2 separate regions of the Homo sapiens genome follow, and region 2 is linked to region 1. Evidence: promoter capture Hi-C in 16 types of primary human blood cells and fetal thymus (Javierre and others, 2016). All regions are on one chromosome and are shown on one strand. The core of a region is centred on a gene start or on the middle of the fragment in contact, and the rest is flanking DNA. Distances in the headings are between cores, read along the strand shown. Region 1 holds the start of CACFD1 (calcium channel flower domain containing 1). Region 2 has its middle 17 kb from the start of GBGT1.

Region 1 (3,937 bases), core at 898-3,397:
GCTCCCTGGCTGTGAGTTGTCCTGGCCTCTGGCACCACCGGTCTGTCTGGGTTCCTATGTCCCTATGTCCCACCTGCAGAATGTGACATGCAGCTCTTTGGGCCCTGGGGTGAAATCGTGAGCCCCTCGCTGAGTCCAGCCACGAGTAATGCAGGGGGCTGCCGGCTCTTCATTAATGTGGCTCCGCACGCACGGATTGCCATCCATGCCCTGGCCACCAACATGGGCGCTGGGACCGAGGGAGCCAATGCCAGCTACATCTTGGTGAGGCCCAGCATGGGGACTTGTGCTGTGATTCTGGACAGCTTTCCCTAGGGCGTGCAGGGCTAGGGGACCCCCTTCAGTTTATTTCAGACTAAAACCCTCAAAATCATTAGTGAAAGAATGGGAGAAGATAGCTTCCTCCACATATTCACCAAGAAATGTTTTTTGAGCTACCTACAAGAGTGAAATAGTGGCTCACAACTGTAATCCCAGCACTTTGGGAGGCCCAGGAGGGCAGATCACTCAAGGTCAGGAGTTCGAGACCAGCCTGGCCAACATGATGAAACCTTGTCTCTACTAAAAATAGAAAAAGTAGCCAGGCATGGTGGCGTGTGCCTGTAATCCCAGCTACTTGGGAGGCTGAGGCACAAGAATCACTTGAACCCGGGAGGTGGAGGTTGCACTAAGCCCAGATCGCACCACTGCACTCCAGCCTGGGCAACAGAGTGAGACTCTGTCTCAAAAAAAAAAAAAAAAAAAAAGCGAAATGGTAAAGAATGGTAAAGACCTTTCTGATGTAGACTGACAGCTAACCCAAGACTGAAGCATAATTTTACAGTCTGATATAACTTGGACAGAATAGCACCCTGCACCCTCCCCGAGGTTTCAAGTGTCCTGGGAGAACTGTGTTCTGCAGGGTATCAGCTTCCCCAGAGGAGGCAGCCTGGCCCCGCTCTGGCACCCTGACTGTGTGTCCTTGGGGAAGTGATGTAACGTCCCTGGACCTCGGTTTTCTGGGTAGAGTAATGGCGTATTCCTAGTAGGGCTTTGTAAGCATTAAATGTGATCCGGAATCTGTGAGCCCTTGCACACGAAGGCTTCCGTGAGTGCTAATTATTACTTGTGGCCGGTCCTTCTGGGCTGCCCCTTTTCTCTCAGATCCGGGACACCCACAGCTTGAGGACCACAGCGTTCCATGGGCAGCAGGTGCTCTACTGGGAGTCAGAGAGCAGCCAGGCTGAGATGGAGTTCAGCGAGGGCTTCCTGAAGGCTCAGGCCAGCCTGCGGGGCCAGTACTGGACCCTCCAATCATGGGTACCGGAGATGCAGGACCCTCAGTCCTGGAAGGGAAAGGAAGGAACCTGAGGGTCATTGAACATTTGTTCCGTGTCTGGCCAGCCCTGGAGGGTTGACCCCTGGTCTCAGTGCTTTCCAATTCGAACTTTTTCCAATCTTAGGTATCTACTTTAGAGTCTTCTCCAATGTCCAAAAGGCTAGGGGGTTGGAGGTGGGGACTCTGGAAAAGCAGCCCCCATTTCCTCGGGTACCAATAAATAAAACATGCAGGCTGACCGGCGTTTTTTTCTTATAAGCTGTCCAGACCTGGCTTGAAAACCCATCCCATGGCAAGGCAGGGATTCGCTGGCCGCGGTTGGCTCTATCTTGATCTGAGCAAGCCGCTGGACGTCCCTAGTTATCTTCTTCCTATCCAGGAAGAAAATCCAATCAGGATTCCACTCCGAGGATGGCGCATTAGCCAGCTCCCTGCGAAGCCCCACCCGTGTGTCCTGGTGTGAGGCTCTGACCGCTAAGGTGTCTGCGCGCCTCCAGGCCCCGCCCCCTATGCTAATAAGCGCCCGCCTCCTTTGGGAGCAAGTCGCCGCAAACTGCGAGCCCCCGCCCCCTACGCTAATGACGCCCGCCCCCCTCGGGCACACCTCTCCGATGCCTGCGAGCCCCGCCCCGTATGCTAACGAGCTCCCCACCCCCAGCTCCTCGCCGCAGCCTGCGGGTCCCGCCCCCTACAATAATGAGCACCTACCTCCCCTCAAACGCCCCTAGTCGCGGCATGAGGGTCCCGCTCACTATGTTAATGAGCACCCGCCTCCCTTCGGGCGCGCCTCGCCGCAGCCTGAAAGCCCCGCCCCCTATGCTAATATGCTCCCTCTCCCACAAGGCAGCGCGCCGGCTCGGACGCGGCCGGCTACCGAGCCCTTTGTGAGGGCTGTGAGCTGCGCCTGACGGTGGCACCATGAGCAGCTCAGGTGGGGCGCCCGGGGCGTCCGCCAGCTCTGCGCCGCCCGCGCAGGAAGAGGGCATGACGTGGTGGTACCGCTGGCTGTGTCGCCTGTCTGGGGTGCTGGGGGCAGTCTGTGAGTATCCAGTCGGGGAGAGGGGCCGGCCCCGCCGCGCATGCGCTCCTCGCCCTGCCCTGCCCCGCCCCGCCCCGGCGGCCCCAGGGGAAAGGACCCGCTGGGGGTCGGGGGTCTGCCGGGCGCCTCCCGGGGCGGAGGAATGGCGGGGCCGCCGGGAGCCGGCGTCCTGGGGTTGCCATGGTTACCCGCTCGGGCCTGGGCGCCTTGGTACCCCGGGCTGGGCTGGGCTGGCGCTTCTGGGAACATTCCCGGAGGGACCAGAAACCCCAGGGCGGGGGGGCGGCGGGGGCGGGGGTGGGGCACCGGCCTGGGGCACGTGACTGAGCCCTCCCCCCGCTCCCCAGGGGCTTTTGTGAGACTTTCTCGGTGATGCTCACGGGGCGCATGCCCACCTGGCCCGTACTAAAGCGTCAACTGTTGACTTGGGCGTAGGTGACGGCAGCCACATTGCTAACCTTTGGGCAAGGATTGTTTGTAAGGGAGGCGGGTGCACGGCTGGCTAGATTTCTGGCAGGAAGCCACTGGGCGGAAGTTTGCTGAGGGTCAGGTGGTGTCAGGGCACAGGTGGCCCCTGGGGCCGCGGGGCAGTGAGCTGAGGGCCCGGCCTCTCCCTGGGTCCTCTGTCCGCTCTCATATCTCCCCCGTTGCTGCTGCCTTAGCCGCCTGTCACCGGCCTTCCTCCCCTTCTCCGCACGCATCCCAGTCACAGACCCTGACCTTAGGCTGCCAGGGAAGCTAGGCTCTTAAGCACAGCCAGAAAAGGACAAAGAGGGAGGCAGGTCAGCTCCAGGAGTGAATGGAAGCCGTACAGCTGGCCTTCCAGGGAAAGACAAGTCTGTCTGAGTGATACCCTTTCCTTTCCTGTCTGCCCTCAATCTTGTGGATTACTGGAGTGGGCAAGGTCTTAGAGAATGTCTGTCGAGGATGTCTGCAGGTTTTAAACAGTGCCTGCCTGGCAGAGAGGGCTAGCTCTGGGCCTGGGCAGGGCAGGCCCCATCAGCAATCCTGCCAGAAGGACCACCTTTTCAGGGTCACCTTGGGTTCCACAGCCTTTCCAGGTGGGTAGAGGGTGGAGGGAGGTTGAGGCAGGAGGGTGCTGGGCTAGGAGTGTGCTGCCCTCGCTAGGCATGCCCTTATCCAGAGGCAACGGATACGGTAGGGCAGGCCCTACCCCCAAATCACAAAAAGGCCCCGAGTTTGTGTCACTGCTCTTCAGGGCAAGTACGCTTTTGACTTTGTAGGAGAGACTGGTGGGTTTGAAGTTAGGCATTGGATCCAGTCCTGTCATGTCTGGTTAGCTGTTTTCCCTGCAGATTAGGGTGGGCAGTGCAGTGGGGTGACATGGTCAGTGGTGAGAAAGGAAAGGTCCTGACTATGGCCTGTAGGCCACACCTCCTTCCTTCTTGGTCAGTGGCCCTGCCGACTCCCAGATTTGCTGTGGAGTCTTACTCAGTTCTGTGCCTCTCAAAGTGAGGTACCTCTGCCTTTCCTGGGAGTTCCTGGGGCTCTGTTGGGTCTACAGATGAAGCTTCAGGAGAAACTTGTGGCATTGCCCTGAGTTGTCAGTTGCATCTGCA
Region 2 (3,937 bases), core at 998-3,497, 280 kb before region 1:
CATTGCAACCTCTGCCTCCTGGGTTCAAGCGATTCTCCTGTCTCAGCCTCCTGAGTAGCTGGGATTACTTACAGGTGCCCGCCACCATGCCTGACTACTTTTTGTATTTTTAGTAGAGATGGGGGTTTCACCATGTTGGTCAGGCTGTCTTGAGCTCCTGGCCTCAGGTGATTCACCTGCCTCGGCCTTCCAAAGTGCTGGGATTACAGGCGTGAGCCACCAAACTTTCTTTATGAACTGGAATGCTAAAGAAGGCTAAGCAGAGATCTATTACTGTGGACCACTTGGAACTAATTGGTACATTAGATAATAAAGTATCAGGATTTGGAACTACAGGAATCTTGGTATTACAATTTTATTAAATGCCCGTAAATCTTAAACAAATCTCCAGCCTTGTCCATTTGGTTTTTTAACTGGTAGTACTGGACTGTTACAAGGGCTGGTGCACGGGATTATGAGTCCTTGTTTAATGAAATCCTCTACAATTGGTGACAGCCCTTGAATTGCTTCAGGTTTTAGAGGATATTGGGGTAATTTAGGCAAAGGTTTAGAACGATCTCTTTGTACTTTTATAGGTTCCAAACTTTTAATTCTTACCATATCAGTTGGGGAAGAGGCCCAAAAACATTTAGATATTTTTGAAAGATCAGGGGTATTACAGGCCTGAGTTTCAATCTTATAGATTTCTGTCTGTAGACAGCATAACAATTCTAGTCCAGGAGAATCAGGAAACTCTAAGGTTATTTCTCCTGAGAAAAATTTTATGTGCCCTTTTAGCTTTGAAAGCAAATCTCGCCCTAACAAGTTTACTGGAGCAGTATAACATAGTAAAAAAGTGTTTTTCTGAAAAGGGGCCCAAAGCTAATTGGATTGGTTCAGATACGGGAACCTCTTAAACTTGATTTGAAACCCCCACCACAGAAATGACCTTTTTACTCCAAGGGATTTGTTGGCTTATTAAAGTGGGGTTTATGGTAGATAGAGTAGCCCCCATATCCCCGAGGACTGTACACAACTCCCCATTTATTTTAACCTGTTTCTCCACGTTGATTTAAAGGCACGGAGAGCAATCTACTGGAGAATCCCTTGGAACCTCATCAAGGTTGATTATTATCAGGAGGCCTAAGGTCTCTTGGGCTCCCTCTAGTGGTGAAACAGTTTGGCCGAAAGGGAGGCTCATTGGTGGACTGATAGAAAAGCGGACAATCCCTTTTCCAGTGCCCTGGTTGTTTGCAATACAGGCAGACATCTTGGGGCAAAGAACTTCTTGTTCTAGGACCTCCTGATTGTGATTTAAAATGAGAAGGAGGCAGAGCGCAGTGGCTCACGCCTGTAATCCCAGCAATTTGGGAGGCCAAGGCGGGCGGATCTTTTGAGGTCAGGAGTTCGAGACCAGCCTGGCCAACATGGTGAAAAGCTGTCTCTACTAAAAATGCAAAAATTAGCCGGGCACGGTGGCACGCACCTGTAATCCCAGCTACCTGGGAGGCTGAGGCATGAGAATCGCTTGAACGTGGGAGGTGGAGGTTGCAGTGAGCCGAGATCTCACCACTGCACTCCAGCCTGGGTGACAGAGTGAAACTCCGTCTCTAAATAAATACATAAAATGATTAATCCCTTGGGTCCCGGTCCCTGTAACTGTTATAGCTGAAGGGCCATAAGCTTGTTAGCCTTTTGAGTTTTTTCTTGCTCTAGAGTCCTCTCAAAATGTCCAGCTAAGGCCAACAATTTAGTCATATCTGTAACTTCCTATCCCAACTCATGTATTTTAATTAAATTGCTGAGTTCGGGATGGAGTCCATTTACAAATAGAGCACTTAATGCCGTTTCAGTCCTTGCAGGAAATACTTCTTGTTGTACTTGGATCCCAGAATGTTTCACAAACAGCATTTCTAAGTGAGTTCTGTAATCTGAAACTGAAATCTTTTTTTTTGTTATGTTTACAAGATTGTATGATGGACCAGTCCATTTTTTGCGGAAAAATTTTAGGAATTGAATTTAAAAGGTTTTCAGCAATTTTTCCAGCGACTTTTGGTCCTTCTTGTGAGGAGCTTTTGGAGGGGTCTTTAACATCCTCCTCAGGTTTGCCCCATTCTGCTGCTGCCGTCCATTTCCGAGCTTTACCAGGCCCCAATATCACGGGAATACATTAGTGAAGGTCAGGAAGTCCTGGATCATAAGCTCCTATGAGGATTCTAAATTCCTCAGTAAATTTTTGAGGATTTTCTCTTGGATCAGGCAAGTCCCTCACAATGGCTCTAAGCTCAGTTTTAGACCATGGAGTGAAAGTAGTTACAGCAGGCAGGCATGACTGATCAGAAAGTCTCACTTTGTAAGGTGCCTGTCTAACTTATTATTATTTTTTTAATCGTCTTCAGGGTGAAAGGGTAATATATACATATTTTTTATTTTTTATTTTTTTGAGACAGGGTCTCACTCTGTCACCCAAGCTGGAGTGCAGTGGTATGATCTCGGCTCACTGCAACCTCTGCCTCCTGGGTTCAAGCAATTCTCCTGCCTCAGCCTCCCGAGTGGCTGGGATTACAGGCACGCAGCACCACGCCCAGCTAATTTTGTATTTTTAGTAGAGACGAGGTTTCACCATATTGGCCAGGCTGGTCTCAAACTCCTGATCTCAGGTGATCCACCCACCTCGGCCTCCCAAAGTGCTGGGATTATAGGCATGAGCCACCAAGCCTGGCCTGAAAGGGTAATTTAGCAAAAAGGTTAGTGGACTCAGAGTATGTAGGTAGAGAAGGATAAAGAGAAGGAACAGTCAGGATGAGGTCAGTCACAGTACAGTCCTCTTTCATCATGTCGTTAGTTTGTTGCTTAAGCTTTTCGTTTGCTTTTTGCAAAGAATCTTTTAAGGAGTCAATTTTTGATTCATTTACTCTTTTAGGGGCTTCTGCATACCAATAAAAGAATACACATCCCACTGTTTTATGGGGTTTTTCATTCCCCCTTTTCTAATATGCCTCATAAATAAACAATTTTATCCAAATTAAAACTTCCCCATTGCAGCCATCTTAATTCTAAGTTTTCTTTAGTTAGGTTAACCCATTTTTCTAAAAATGCACAAGTTCTGGGCCCATAATTTTTATGCATAAAATTAGCTGGAGTCCCAGAATGTGGAGTCCCAGACTCCTTGGATTGAGAGGGTTGCATCTGAGCTGGTTCCAGCCTTGGAGTAGGGGCTGCTGCTGGTCCCAGGCTCCATGCTGGGGGCCTGGTGGCCAGATGGAAGGTTCAGCTTTGCAGCGGTCACACCTGCTGGGTGAATGGGTGTTCTAAGGGTGCTCGTTGGCACAGGTGGCTGTGACTCATATCTGGGAAAGTGTGAGGGAAGCGCACAGAGGGCAGCCGTCCCTTTGGTGTCAGGGCTCCGTCCCCATGGGCAGTGCTCCTTGGAAAAAGTCAGCTACTCCTTTGGATCCTGGGGAGCAAAAGGCACCTAAGGCAGTGAGTAGTCCACAGAGGCCAGGTCAGCCTGGTGACCAGGAGGTGTCCTGCCCAGCAGCAGGACAGGTTCTGTGTGAAACTGGAATCTGGAGGTGGCCTGGGCTGACAGGTGGGTGGAGGGTGTCTGGATGGCTTTGTCCACTCCCGTCTGTAAGTGCTTAGCCACTCTGCAGGTGAGACCCTAGGAAGGGAAGCCCTGGTTGGTGCCAGGGGTTGATTAGAAGATGCCCTTGCAGGCATGGTGGCTCATGCTTGTAATCCCAGCACTGTGGGAGGCTGAGGCAGAAGGACTGCTTGAGCTCAGGAGTTCAAGACCAGCTTGGGCAAGATGGTGAAACCCTGTCTCTATAAAAAATTTAAAAAATTAGCATGTGCTTGTGGTCCCAGCTACTTGAGAGGCTGAGGTGGCAGGATAGCTTGAGTCCATGAGATCAAGGCTGCAGTGAGCCAAGATGGCACCACTGTACTCCAGCCT

The links. The method cuts DNA at HindIII sites, captures the fragments that hold promoters and counts their contacts. A CHiCAGO score of 5 or more calls a contact.
Region 2: a fragment that was not itself captured here is called in contact with the fragment with the promoter of CACFD1 in region 1 in 1 of 17 cell types (M1 macrophages); the score reaches 5.5 in M1 macrophages.

The regions. Positions count from the first base shown.
Region 1 is chr9:133,457,831-133,461,767 of GRCh38, forward strand. CACFD1 (calcium channel flower domain containing 1) reads left to right here and starts at 2,148. Exons shown (of 5, transcript NM_017586.5): 1 at 2,148-2,357. The coding sequence starts at 2,237. It overlaps ADAMTS13 (ADAM metallopeptidase with thrombospondin type 1 motif 13), which reads left to right. Exons shown (of 29, transcript NM_139027.6): 28 at 80-264; 29 at 1,144-1,556. The coding sequence ends at 1,350. RefSeq lists an enhancer at 1-93 and silencers at 1,744-1,963, 1,974-2,073, 2,364-2,663. The HindIII fragment of the contact is 16,509 bases long and covers 1-3,886 here.
Region 2 is chr9:133,178,956-133,182,892 of GRCh38, forward strand. No RefSeq gene overlaps it. Among named protein-coding and RNA genes, the nearest start is that of GBGT1, 17 kb to the left of the region's middle. The HindIII fragment of the contact is 1,175 bases long and covers 1,661-2,835 here.